2 separate regions of the Homo sapiens genome follow, and region 2 is linked to region 1. The links are contacts of gene promoters, found by promoter capture Hi-C in human tissues and cell types (Jung and others, 2019). All regions are on one chromosome and are shown on one strand. Each heading gives the region's core, a stretch centred on a gene start or on the middle of the fragment in contact. The rest is flanking DNA. Distances are from core to core; before and after follow the strand shown.

The links. The method cuts DNA at HindIII sites, captures the fragments that hold promoters and counts their contacts. A contact is called where the count stands out against the background at its distance.
Region 2: a fragment that was not itself captured here is called in contact with the fragment with the promoter of LTN1 in region 1 in 1 of the 25 tissues and cell types used here (spleen).

The regions. Positions count from the first base shown.
Region 1 is chr21:28,988,540-28,995,923 of GRCh38, forward strand. LTN1 (listerin E3 ubiquitin protein ligase 1) reads right to left here and starts at 4,338. Exons shown (of 30, transcript NM_015565.3): 1 at 4,225-4,338. The coding sequence starts at 4,266. It overlaps LOC105372766 (a long non-coding RNA gene), which reads left to right and starts at 4,564. Exons shown (of 3, transcript XR_007067835.1): 1 at 4,564-4,592; 2 at 5,031-5,142; 3 at 5,243-5,642. RefSeq lists enhancers at 4,143-4,252, 4,563-4,622. The HindIII fragment of the contact is 9,354 bases long and covers 1-6,412 here.
Region 2 is chr21:29,239,762-29,247,145 of GRCh38, forward strand. The region is part of intron 1 of LINC00189 (long intergenic non-protein coding RNA 189); the gene reads left to right. Among named protein-coding and RNA genes, the nearest start is that of LINC00189, 50 kb to the left of the region's middle. RefSeq lists an enhancer at 5,712-5,761. The HindIII fragment of the contact is 3,034 bases long and covers 1,701-4,734 here.

The sequences.
Region 1 (7,384 bases), core at 3,088-5,587:
CCTACTTCCTAAACTGAACTGAGTGAACAGGAAAGAAAATGATGGCCTGCATTACATTTGTTTTCAATCTGTAGCATTTAAGACTAATTCCAAAAAAGGTTCTCTATTTTTTTTTTTAAGTGAAAGTAAGTTTATTAAGAAAATAGGTCAGGCGCGGTGGTTCACGTCTGTAATCCCAGCACTTCGGGAGGCTGAGGAGGGAGATCACCTGAGATCAGGAGTTCAAGACCAGCCTGGCCAACATGGTGAAACGCCGTCTCTACTAAAAATACAAAATTAGCCAGGCATGGTGGCACATGCCTTTAATCCCAGCTACTTGGGAGGCTGAGGCAGGAGAATTGCTTGAACCCAGGGGGCAGAGATTGCAGTGAGTCGAGATTGCGCCATTGCACTCCAGCCTGGGCAAAAAGAGCGAAACTCCATTTCAAAAAAAAAAAAGAAAAGAATAAAAGAATGGCTACTCCATAGGCAAAGCAGCTGTTCTCTATTTTTTAAGTTTATTAAAATGAATTAATATTAATTATTCAATTCACCTTTCTCAATATTGGTACATGAATAAAGAGCCACAAAGGAAGTAGTTAGTGAATTATAATTCTTAAACTAAATATGATGACTTTAGGGTATCAGAATTTTCTACAATCTCATGTGTAAACGGTTTTATTATGAAACAGAATAAAAAACTAATTATTGCTAACATCTAAAGGAGTTGAGGCTGAAATAACAGAATTAGGAGTGATAACTAGGGGCAAAAGAGAAGGTATCAAATTTCCAGTCTCCAATTTAAAAGTAACAAGTTACTTTTAAATGCACTATCTTTTTTTAATGTCTACTTTAAATTTAAAATATAGTTACTCTTATGATCTTTGTATGTTAAGTGCTATACCCATAGTTCAATAAAAATTAAGAAACAATTCTATTTATGGCACTTATTTTTTTTTTTGTACTATGCCTACTTCTGTCTACACTCTTTCATGCCTAGCTTCTAGAGTTATTTGTGGTGGCAATCCTGAGTCTACAAAGACCAAACCAAGGAAGACTTACAAGACCTTTCACCATCTAACCTCAACTTTTCCCAGTCTTATCTCCTGCCACTCTTTCCTTCCCTTGCCCCACTTCCTTCTCCCTTCTTCAAATTATGCTGCCATCATTCATGCCCTAGTAGCAAACTGAATTCGAAGTTCTCTGAGGCAGGGCATGGTGGCTCACACCTGTAATCCCAGCACTTTAGGAGGCTGAGCGTATCTTTGGGCAGATCACTTCAGGCCAAGAGTTTGAGACCAGCCTAGCCAACATGGCAAAACCCTGTATCTATTAAAAATACAAAAAATTAGCCGGGTGTGATGGTGCATGCCTGTAATCCCAGCTACTCGAGAGGCTGAGGCAACAAAACTGCTTGAACCTGGGAGGTGGAGGTTGCAGTGACCCGAGACTCTGTCTCAAAAAAAAAAAAAAAGTTATCTATGTGATGGCCTTTCACAATTTGATCTTTATATAACCTTTTTTCTCTACCTGAAAACGCTTCCTTTCTTTTCACTGTCTGACAAACTCCTACTCATCTTTCAAACTCATGTTTGCAACACTTGCCTTCCTCCATTCTCTTCCATTCTCCCACATTCTTTCTTCTAATACCTGCATCATAATTCTTTAACATTTGCTTACATATGTGTCTGTATCATCAAACTAATAGTTCAAGAACAGCAGACATCTATTATCTCTGAATACCTGACATCCAGTATCAGAGTCTTCTATTGAAGACTTTGCCACATTAAAGTTAAAATCCCAACTCCACAACTTCCTGGCTACATGAGCTTAGGCAAGCTAATTTCTCTAAACCTCAGTTTCACCACATTTAAAATGAGATATGAGTAATTAATTCATTAGTTGGGTTGTTTTCATGATTAAGCATAAGTTTTTAAATCACCATAGTAATAACTGATTCCAGCAAGAATCAAAGGGTGCTCAAACCATTAGGTGAAAGTTTGTGGAAGAGCAGGACATTCACAGTTTCAAACTAACATATTATTTGTTATTGGCCAATGGAAAAATATAACTTTATAATGAACAACACCTTAACCAAGTAATTAAACAAATACCACCAATAAGGGGACAAACAGGTGCGAAGTGCCCCTGGTGTGTGATGCACTGAGAAAGACTCATCATCTATGAAGAATTCCTTCTAAAAATTGTTTAGCCTGAATCTAATCATAAGGAAAAAACTAGATGAATCTGAATTAATCAAACAAATGGCCCAGGCTCTTCCAAATTTTGTTAAAAAAGACACTCCTCTCCCCGCTTAAACAGTACTGAGAAACTGTCTAGATCAAAGAAACCCAAATGGTAACTAAATGGAATGAGTGATCCTTGACTGAATCTCAGATGTTAAAACGGTTTATCTTTTTAAAAAAGTCCCAGCCTGGGCAACATGGCAAAACTCTGTCCCTACAAAAATAAGCTAGCCGTGATGGCCTGTACCTGTAGTCCTAGCTACTGGAAAGGCTAAGCTGGGAGGATCACTTGAACCCGAGAGGCGGAGATTGCAGTGAGCCAAGTTCACGCCTCTGCACTCCAGCCTGGGTAACAGAGCCAGACTCTGTCCCCGAAAAAAAAAAAAAAAAGATTAGCCAGGAGTCCTAGCTACTAAGGAGGCTGAGGTGGGAGGACTGACCGCTTGAGCCCAAGAGGTTGACACTGCAGTGGGCCATGATCATACCACCACACTCCAGGTTTGGAGACAGAGCGACCCTGTCTTACAAAAAAAAAAAAAAGAAAAAAGAGAACATTATTGGGATAACTACAGAAGTCTAAATACAAGGCTGTATCCTGGATTACAGTATTATACAAAAGTCAAAGTTTCTGCATACTATAACCATTATTATAATTGCTGCAGGCTAGAAAATGGCATTGTTTTTAGAAGATACATGCTGATGTATTTAGGAGTTAAGAGTCCCGACTTCTGCAACTAACTCTTATAAGTTCAGAAAAATACATAAATTAAGAGAGAGAAAGCAAATGCAACCAAGTATTAGCAATTGGTAAATGTAGGTAAAGAGTATATGGGATGTCGTTCTAATATTCTTGCAACTTTTCCTCATAAGAACTTTTCAAATATAAAACATTTGAGAAAATCTGTTAAATAAAAAACATTAAAAGATGCAAGTAAAGTGCTTAGCACAGTAACACAACAGGTTGCTATAATTGTTAATACTGTTATTATCTTCCAAAACAGATTAAGTGACAGATCTAAGAAAATGTGACATTGAAATCACTAGAATTAACTACATCAGAAACAGGAAAAAAAAGCATTCTCATAAAATTGGACTGTGCTATAATAAATCTAACACCATAAAAAAATACCATTACAAAACCCCTCATCGTGTAGTTTTACACGAATCCACTTTAAGGTCGTCCTTAAGCAAGTACTTAGTGAGCGTCTATTAGGTGCCAGTCTGTTCTAGGTTCCGAGGATAAAAACATTTGCTTTCAAAATACTTACGTCCTAGTGAACCAAGACAATAAATGTCATAAATACAATGGAGTAAAATAAAGTAGGAAGAACATGGGAGTGGGGAAGGGCTACCAAGAGGGTGATCATGGGAGACCTCACTGAGGTGTCGAGAGCAAAGTTTGGAGCCACCTAACTGAAGAGCGTTGGGAGCCGGCCAGGTAGTCAAGGCACAGTGAAGAGATCAGTGTGGCTGGATGAAGTAAGCCAAGAGGAGGGAGCTGAAGATGGGACTGCAGATGGAAAGGGGTAACAGGCAGTCCAGAAACCAAATATACCATCCTAAGAGCTTTAGCTTAGGAGAAGCCACTGTAGGTAGCAAAGGAGAGGCACAATCTGCGGTAACCTCCACAGTGGATTCACTTTAACATTCTCCCAACTCTCCTTCTTCCCAGCGCCGCCCTCCCCCAACCAACCCGCTACCTCGGCCAGATCACCTTCCAGTGAACCTGACACATTATCATTTCTTCATGAATATTATGGGTGTGTGCTCGGATGAGGACAGCTCTGGCATGGTACATCTTTTCTCTCACGATTCCCCAATCTGCTCAGAGATAACACAAACCGCTCTCAGGGACGCACACACAACAGAGAGGTCACACTCGACAGGGAAACACACGCCTCCCTACAGCCGCGCTCCACACACCCTCCAGCAACGCGCTGGGCGGAGCCAGCCGCCTCGAAGCGAGGCTCCCGGGTCGGCCGAGCCAGCCCCCGCTCACCCTCAGGTTCCCTTTAGTTCGCTGCTTGTTCTTCCCGCCCATGGTCGCGGTTGCAGCTGTACTCTGAGCACTCAGACCCCGGTTGACACGTCCGGGACACAACTTCCGGCTTCTGGCGGCGGAAGAGGACACCCTGTAATAACTTCCCCCGGGCCCTTTTCCGCCACCCACCCTGTCCATTTGCTGCCCCACTTCCGCTCCCGCCTCCCGCTGTGTCCCTGACCATCCGCCACCGGAGACGTCACAGCTAAAGCCACGCCTGTCTGAGTGATGTCATTCCTGGCCAATAGGAAGCCAAGCATTGGACCCGTGGCGCCAAATCCTGTCCTCCCCGCTTTCAGAAGCTAGGTTTGTTCCTTGCTTAGAGGGTAGGAAACTGGCGTGAATCATCAGAGGGGCAGTTTCACATAAGGGTAGCATTAGAATGTTATGGTAGAGGCTGTGGGAAGATGGGAGTGTTTTAGACTTCCAACATGATGCAATCATCAGTATCACCTGGGCGTTTTTTAGAAAAGGCCAACTCGGGCCCCTCAGAACTCCTGAATCAGATCCTGCATTTTGACAGTATTCCCAAGTCTTGTTAAAATTTGATTACTGCTGTAGGCACTATTCTCTCTAAATCTCCCCTCCCCGTCCCCTTTTATTCATATTGAAACTGTTAACGTGCAGTTTAGGAAAGAGGATAATGTGGGAGTCCCTATTAAAATTTGAAATGTACAAATCCTGTAACCCATTGATTGTGCGACTCAGAATCACACCAGAGAAACAAGTAAATGTGTGCTGGTTATTGTTTCTTGTCCACGCAGTCACCCTTTTATACTCAACTCCATGTTACTGGGGGGGCTTCTGCTAGATTCCACCAACAGGACGAACAAGAGGGAAACAAAGGCAAGAGGAAGAAGGGACTTGCTCCATTCTGTAAGCATCATGCCAGCAGCAGCTGCATTTTACCGTGGCAGGAGCAATTGCTTTAGCCAAAAGGTGGTTTTAATCTCTATCCTTTTTCCAACAATCACAGAATCAGCCTTATTGCACCCCTCAGAGATCACAGCAGCAGTCAGTGCTCTCCTCAGAGATCTGAATTCTACTTTCATGCGGCCCCTCCCCTGAGCTCCTGAGATAGCCAATGTTTGAGCCACCTCCTCAGAAGTTTGAGCCTCAACACCGTGGGATCCCTTCTTTGTGCTCCAGAGATCCAGTAACAGCCAGCCATCACCCTCTCTTCATTCTTCATAGGCCTGAACTAAGGTGTTCAGGGCCCTCCTTCAAGCTTTTAGGTTCTGATGACTCCAACCACTTCTTTTGTTCCATCCTTTCCTAGCTCTAGGAATGGTAGCTGCTACCTGCAGTGATTACCTGTTACCTTTTATAATTCCTTTTGACCAATTTCCCATATTAAAATATTTCTCAATAACTAATGTGATTTCTGTTTTCCTGACTGGACCCTGATTTTAAAATGCACACAAAAGCCAGGTGCAGTGGCTTATGCCTGTAATCCCACCACTGTGGGAGGCCGAGGCAGGTGGATCACCTGAAGTCAGGAGTTCGAGACCAGCCTGGCCAACATGGCAAAAACCCATCGCTACTAAAAATACGAAAATTAGCTGGGCAGTGGTGGCAGGTGCCTGCAATCCCAGCTACTTGGAAGGCTGAGGCACGAGAATCTCTTGAACCCGGGAGGCGAAGGTTGCAGTAAGCCAAGATCATGCCACTGCACTCCAGCCTGGGTGACAGAGCAGACTGTCTCAGAAAAAAGTCACACAAAGAGACATATTACAGGAGGTTCACAAAAACTTTATAATAGAAAGATAATTGTAAGCAACCTATGTCTATATATTGGAGAACTGCTAAATAAATTATATGTATTCAATAAGCTATTAGGCAACATTTAAGAAGAATAAGGTTTATCTGAACACACATAGGAAGAATTCTAAGACACATTCTTAAATAAAAAGCAAATACCAATATATACAGTATGATACCATTTGTGTTTTTAAAACCCACAACACAATAATATATATATATATATATTTATGCATATATATATAATATAAATACAGAGAATAGGCCGGGTGCGGTGGCTCACGCCTGTAATCCCAACACTTGGGGAGGCCGAGGTGGGTGGATTGCTTGAGGTCAGGAGTTTGAGACAAGCCTGACCAACATGGTGAAACGCCGTTGCTACTAAAATACAAAAATTAGCTGGGCATGGTGGCAGGCAGCCGTAATCCCAGCTACTAGGGAGGCTGAGGCAGGAGAATTGCTTGAACCCAGGAGGTGGAGGTTGCAGTGAGCCAAGATCGCGCCTCTGCACTTCAGCCTGGGTGACAAAGTGAGACTCCGTCTCAAAAAAAAATAATAATAAAATAAAGATCTGCAAGAATACATACCAGTCTGATCATTGTAGTGACTTTTTGTGGGAAAAAGTGGCAAGAAAAGACATTAGGGTTAAGAGTTATAGTCAAAGGAAATTAAGCCTTATCTGTAAGATTTTATTTTATACAAGGACAACATCTTCATGTATTAATTATGTAATTAAAAATCAACTCAGGCTGGGTGCAGTGACCGATGCCTATAATCCCAGCACTTTGGGAAGCCAAGGTGGGTGGATCACCTGAGATCAGGAATTCAAGACCAGCCTGGCCACGATGGTGAAACCTCGTCTCTACCAAAAATACAAAAACTAGCTAGGCACGGTGGCACGCACCTGTAACCCCAGCTATGTGGGAGGCTGAGGCAGGAGAATTGCTTGAACCCAGGAGGCAGAGGTTGCAGTGAGCCAAGATCGCGCCACTGCACCCCAGCCTGGGCAACAGAACAAGACTCCGTCTCAAAAAAAAAAAAAAAAAATCAACTCAACAAATATTGTTTGTTTAAAATAAATCATTGGTTACATATATCATGGTACATTGGTTATACAAATTGTAGTGTCCTCATTCTTGAGAGTTATACAATATAGCTGCAAACAGTTTAACACATTGGAAACACTACTAGATATCATGCCATTCACTGAAAATGTGGGTGTCACATATCAAAAATGCTACAGAAGGGGAAGATTAACATGTGCTTGAGTAGTCAGATAGGCTTTCCAAGCCAAAGCCCAAAGCTTGGAAAACATTAGGAAAAGTAAAATAAAAGGGAGAACATTCAAAATGGGGAC
Region 2 (7,384 bases), core at 1,968-4,467, 250 kb after region 1:
TTCCTTGTCTGATCTCCTACAGGGACTTGAGATTTGAGAGAAGTTCAATTTCCGCCATTTTCTGTTCCCTCTCTCCACATTTTGCACAATGTCTTTTGTGGCTTTTTTTGTTTTTGTTTTTGTTTTTGTTTTTGTTTTTTTTTGAGGCAGAGTCTCCCTCTGTCACCCAGGCTGGAGTGCAGTGGCACTATCTGAGCTCACTGCAGCCTCTGCTTCCTGGGTTGAAGCAATTCTCCTGCCTCAGCCTCCCAAGTAGCTGGGATTACAGGTGCCTGCCACCACCCCCAGCTAATTTTCATATTTTTAGTAGAGACGAGGTTTTGCCATGTTGGCCGGGCTTGTCTCGAACTCCTGACCTCAAGTGATCTGCCTGCCTTGGCCTCCCAAAGTGATGGGATTACAGGTGTGAACCTCTGCCCCCGGCCTTTTGTGGCATTTGTATTGAATGGAATGAATAACTAAGCCAATGAATGAGCAAAATATACAGTCTTGTTCCAGAAAACAAAAGAACAACAAATGCAGACCAGGCAATAGATAGGGGGAATGCCTGCCTGCCCCAGTTTCCCAACCTTCTTTCCTTGGCTTTTCTGCCTTCCATGCTGAGTTACCTCATGGACCTGCAGCTACTGTGCCAGGACTCCTGGTGTTTGCTTTTTCTCTTCCAACTCCAAGCAATGACAATATCAAGTTTTTTACTCCATGTTAGCACTCTTAGAACCCAATATTTTAAAAATTGACTAAAATTCTAAGAGAAAATGTAAAAAGAAAAAAAATTACAACTCCCATTCAAAAGATGAAAAATAACAGCCTACCACTAATTGACATTTTCCTGTACGCCGGACACTGTGCAAGGTTTCTACAGACATGGGAAGAGGGATTACTCTCTCCATTTTGGAGGTGTGGAGATGATATGGTTTGACTGTGTCCCCACCCAAATCTCGTCTTGAATTGTAGCTTCCATAATTCCCACATGTTATGGAAGGGACCCGGTGGGAGTTAATTGAATCCTGGGGGTGATTTCCCTTATACTGTTCTTGTGGTAGTGAATAAGTCTCACGAGATCTGATGGTTTTATAAGGGGAAACCCCTTTTGCTTGGCTCTCATACTCTCCTGCCTGCCGCCATGTAAGATGTGCCTTTCGCCTTCCGCCATGATTGTGAGGCCTCCCCAGCCACGTGGAACTGTGAGTCCATTAAACCTCTTTTTTTTTTTTTTTTTTTTTTAAATAAAGCAACTGGTCTTGGGTATGTCTATCAGCAGGATGAAAATGGACTAATACAGGAGCCGAGGCCTGGAAAGAGTTTTCCTTGTCCTGTGTCCCACTGCTGGTCAGTGGTGAAGCTTGGGATGAGAACAATGGTTATTTCATTCTACAACCCATACTTTGAAAAGCAGGCATTGCTAAGTAAAATAATTCTAGTTTATGCAGAGAAGAGATTGACTTAGCATAAAGTTCCCTCTTTTGAAGACTCAGTGAGCAGCCTTGCAGCTGCTGCTGTGTAGGCCTTTCACAGTCAGGTTGCCTGGATTTTCTGCCCATGCATCTGACAGTAGCTCTTCTCCCAGCCATAGGTTACTTGTTTTCAAAACAAACACAGGCTTTTCTTTATAAGTTTTTTTCTGGTGCTCACCTCTCTCATCCCCTATACCTCTCTTCAACCTAGGCTCTTCCAAAAAGTACATCAAGCAGGTGAAGTTTACACCTCTAACTTCAGAGAAGTGGTTATTGGTACCATAAAAACCCAAAGCATGGCCAGGAACAGTGGCTCACACCTGTAATCCCAGCAATTTGGGAGGTTGAGGTGGGCAGGTCACCTGAGGTCAGGAGTTCGACACTAGCCTGGCAAACATGGTGAAACCCCGTCTCTACTAAAAATGCAAAAATTAGCTGGGCATGGTGGCGGGTGCCTGTAATCTCAGCTACTCGGGAGGCTGAGGCAGGAGAATCACTTAAACCCAGGAGGCAGAGGTTGCAGTGAGCTGAGATGGTGCCATTGCACTCCAGCCTGGGCAACAAGAGCGAAGCTCCATTTCAAAAAACAGACAAAAAACCCAAAGCTTGGCTGGTCTGCCTCATCTTATTTCCCAATATTTTCCACTTAGTTTCCCTATGAATCTCTTAGATCCTTTAGTGTCTTACTTCTACCCCACCAACAAAAGGAGTAGTGTGTATGAATTAGGATTTTACAATATAAATATACATTTACAGTAACATACTTATAATGAGGATGTTTTTCTCTAAAAAGAACTATGCTAACATACTTTATATAATTGCAATGAATTTGTTTTTCACTGTTTATAACTTCTTAAAAAATATACTGGGCATGAGAAGACCTATCCAAAAGCAGGAAAATCTTATTTTAAGTGCTGCAATTGTGTCAGTTATGTCATGAAATCATAAATGGTGGCTATCTGTCAAAATGTGCTATGTTTCCTTAGACATAAGGAAGACAATGAATTTTCAAGATAACTCACTGATGTGTCTTTGTTAAGCTGACATATTTGGAAGAATTCCCAAATAATTTTCATGGTCAGAGAGATTCTCATTTTGCAAGCTACCCCTAAGCAAGAGGCACTGGGGACTTTGCCCAACCAGTAATATTCAGATGAGTTGCAGATTGTTTAAGTAGCTAAATCATGTTAATCCTCTTTCCATGTATGGCAGCATTTATTTAAAATTATTTATTGAATGCATTCTATGTGCCAGGCCCATTTCCAAGTACTGGATATTCCTGGTGAACAAATCCTACACATATTACTACCTTTAGGGAGCTTACACTCTGGCATTAGGCATCAAAACAACACATTCTGGCAAATGAGGCTGGTAACTTTTAAGGATTAAATAGCTTAGAGTTATCAGAGTGTTGACCAGGCATGGTGGCTCATGCCTGTAATCCCAACACTTTGGGAGGCTGAAGTGGGCAGATCAATGGAGGTCTGGAATTTGATACAAGCCTGGCCAACATGGTGAAACCCGGTCTCTATTAAAAATACAAATATTAGCTGGGCGTGGTAGCAGGCACCTGTAATCCCAGCTACTTGGGAGGTTAAGGCAGGAGAATGGCTTGAACCCGGGAGGCAGAGGTTGCAGTGAACTGAGATCTAGCCATTGCTCTCCAGCCTGGGCAATAAGAGTGAAACTCTGTTTCAAAAAAAAAAATTATCAGAGAGTAGATTTATGTATTAAGCATCTTTCAAAAGGCCTTACACAGTTACAGTTTACATTATTAATGTACTACATTTCTTGGCAAATAATTTATTGCTGTTGGTCTTCCAGTCCCCATTCTATAAGATACATATGCAAAGTCAGGAAACAAAGTAAACTTTTCTTAAAACAGTATGTTAGTTATCTTCAAATAATATGCTTTCAGTTGAAGTGGATTTGCTCTAGATTTAAAATAATGGGCCTAATTGCTGATCTAGAAAAAAGTAACTTATAAAACATATTGAGCATCCAAAAATTCTGGCAGCATAGGAAGCTTACTATATTCATTATACTTTTGAAGGGGAATGGAAGTTAAAGAAATGCAGATTATGTTGTTTGAAAATTATCTGAGTCCATTTGTGTTGCTATAAAGGAATATCTGTGACTGGGTAATTTATAAAGAAAAGAGGTTTATTTGGCGCACACTTCTGTAGCCCATACAAGAAGCATGGCACCAACATCTGCATCTGGTGAGGGTCTCAGGCTGCTTTCACTCATGGTGGAAGGTGAAGGGAAGTCAGTGTGTGCAGAAATCATTCAGCAAGAGAAGAAGCAAGAGAGGCAGGAGGTGCCAGGCTCTTTTTAACAATCAGCTCTCACAGGAACTGATAGAGCAAGAACTCACTCATTACCATAAGGATAGCACCAAGCCATTCATGAGAAATTCACCCCTATGGCCTAAACACGTCCCCTTAGGCCTCATCTCCAACACTGGGGATCAAAGCTCAATGTGAGGTTTGGGGAGACAAACACCCAAACCATAGCAAACATATAAGTGACATACTGTTAAAAGATGGATTTATCCTATGTTTCTTTTTCTTTTTTCTTTCTTTTTTTTTTTGAGAAGGAGCCTTACTCTGTTGCCCAGTCTGGAGTGCAGTGGCATGATCTTAGCTCACTGCAACCTCCACCTCCCGGGTTCAAGCAATTCTTCTGCTTCAGCCTCCTGAGTAGCTGAGATTACAGGCGGGCACCACGATGCAGAACTAATTTTTGTATTTTTAGTAGAGATGGGGTTCCACCATGTTGGCCAGGCTGTTCACCCCAGTAACTCTCCCCTTAAACAATTGGCAGTTGTAGGAAGGAGCAAAAGATGCACAACTGTGCAGAGAACAAGGGTAGTATCCCATTACTTGTTATTTAGGATTCCGTGGCATGTACTTATTCTTGAATAATTTACTCAAAAAAAAATGGGAAGCTTCCACATCTTGGCGATTATATATAGTGCAGCAGGAACATGGGAATGTGGATATCCCCTCCATAAACTGACTTCCTTTCTTTTGGGTATATACCTAGCAGTGGGATTGCTGGATCGTGTTGTAGTTCTATTTTTAATTGTTTGTGGAGCATCCATACTATTCTCATAGTGGCTGTGGAGAATAATTTACATTCTAATTTAGTACTAATTTATATTCCCACCAACAGCATGCAAGGGTTCCTTTTTCTCCACTTGAATAAGATCTAATATTTAATAGCACAACAGGGTGATTACAGCCAACAACAATTTATTGCACATTTAAAAATAACTAAAAGAGTATAAACGAAATGTTTGTAACACAAATAAATGATAAATGCTTGAGGTGATGGATACTCGGTTTACCCTAATGTGATTATTACACATTGTATGCCTGTATCAAAATATCTCATGTACCCCATAAATATGTACATCTACTATGTACCCATAATTTTTTTAAGTAAGCACTTTCAGAAAGGATGCTTCTCAGAACTCACAAACATTGCATTTTTATACTTTCATAGTTGAAAAATATAAATCAGTTTTGTTAAAGGTGGTGCATTAGAGAGTAGGAAGATGAGGCCCGGAAGATCTCGTGTATTTTAACATGTTGTTCTCAGGAAGCTTCATATGGATATCTGTAAATTTTAAGAAGCCACCCTAGGATACCCCAAAATAAGTCTGTGGTCACGCACTGCTCACAAACAGAGCGTAAGGCAGAGGGCACTGTTTCGATGCATCCTCTATCCAGCTGGAAAGCCAGAAATATTATTTTCGTAGTCAAATGATTAAAATAGTAATGGTTTATTTACTCTCCCCAAGTGTAGTTGGGAAATACATGAGGTTAAAATTCAGGCATCTGAGTTTCTGTTTCTCCTCCTCCAACTATGAAGGTAAGTTGGTCTCTCCCTGTGCCCATTGTGGCAAGTGTCTGCCCAGGCCCTTGACCAGAGAGACAGGAAGCAATGATGACAGAGCCAGGCAAGCCCAGACCTCACATGAGCCTCCTCTGTAATTTTGGATAGTTCTGGAAACTGGACCATCAGCCTTAATGGCCTATGCTGGGAATCCTGTGCACACCAGGCCACATTTCTCAGCAGCTTGCCTGTGCCGTGCCCCTAAAAAGAACAGCTCAGACCTGCTCTGCAGGGGCATTTATCTTGTCAGCTGAAGAGGGTGAGCTCATTTTAGGCACGTTGCTGTAAACAACTGAAAGATCCACTCTCCTAAGCATAGACCTGACTCAACTATGTCTCTGCAAATGGTCTCCCTTTTGCAACACAACTGCACCGAGAAGCTACACACTTTCACCTTCCAGCAGATCTTGGTCAGATACATTGCAGTGAACTTCCCACTCTCTTCCCACTCCTTTCAAACTCAGTCACTGAAACCACAACCACCCCACCACTGTAACAACAGAACCAATTTCAATAGTTTGAGGCCATTCCCAAGCTCTATCTCTCAGGCTAGAACAAATGAACAAGCTCCTTGTGCCATCAGCATTAATATTTGTGGTGTCAAGTGGGCATTGTATAGATTTTCCCCACTATCTACACATCAGACTGTGAGGTGGGTAGAAGGGCATGATGGCCATTTCACAGATAAGAAAGCCAAGTTAAAATTAGTTGCACAAAGTTATAGCTTACAGCGACAGAATTGGCCCATGAATTCATTACCCTTTCATTCCACTACAGTATCAGTCAAATTTTAAAAACAAGCCCAAAAATATATTTCCATATATGTTTTATTTTCATCCTAGGATTTTGAGCTGTCTTGTTAATATTAATTTATTTAAATTTCATAGGAAGAATACTATTGAAGTTTCTATTACTACTTCTGAGTGACTGTATGCTAAAAGGGAATGATATGACTTGCAAATATGTTTTGAGGAATGTTCTATGAATATGCCTAAAATTCATGGTTTCTACCCAATTAAAATTTTGTATTCATGTGAAATAGTTTAAGAAAGAGAAAATATACCACATATTTTTATTTGATGATTTTTAACAATTATGAAGAAAAAATTGATGAGAAAAAGTACAGACTATACTCTTAGATTTTTTTCTTTTTCTTTTGTTTGTCCTGTTTTGTTTTGAGACAGGGTGTTGCTCTGTCTCCCAGGCTGTAGTGCCATCATGGTTCATTGCATGCAGCCTTGACCTCCTGGGGTCAAGTGATCCTTCCGCCACAGCCTTCCGAGTAGCTGGGACTACAGGTGCATGCCACCATGCCTGGCTAATTTTTATTTTTATTTTTATTTTTGTAGAAGCAGGGTCTCACTATGTTGACCAGGCTGGTCTCTAACTCCTGAGATTACAGGCAGGAGCCACCACGACCAGCCCAGACTATAATCTTAAATACATTTTTCAAATATGTGTTAAGAACTAGTTGTGCGCAGGCTACTTTGCTAAAGAGTATCTGTTCATTGGAATGTTCAGTTTTGAGAAAATAATTATTTTATAGGCTTATCAATGGCCATTATCTTGAGTAAACTAAAATATTTACATTAATGATCTTGAGAGGAGATTGACAACAAAGAGCCAGGTTATAGAGCAATCTTCTCTTGAGCCTGGATTTGTTCGGATGAATGATTACATAATGATGTCCAGTGGGAATCGCAGGATGTGACAGCTGTTTGACAGCCTGTCAATTTTACAAATGAAGCAACTGAAGCCAAGTGAAGTTATGTCTTGCTCAAGCTTCTAAGGATAAGCTGAGTCTGAAACCTAGATTTTCTTTTATTTTTCTTTATTTTAATTTTTATAGATTTAGGAGACACAAGTGCAATTATGTCACATCAATATAGTGTATGGTGGTGAAGTCTGAGCTTTTAGTGTAACCATCACCTGAATTGTGTACATTGTACCCATTAAGTAATTTTCATCCGTCACCCCCTTCCCACCCTTCCACCTTTCTGAGTCTGCAGTGTCTACTCTTCTATTCT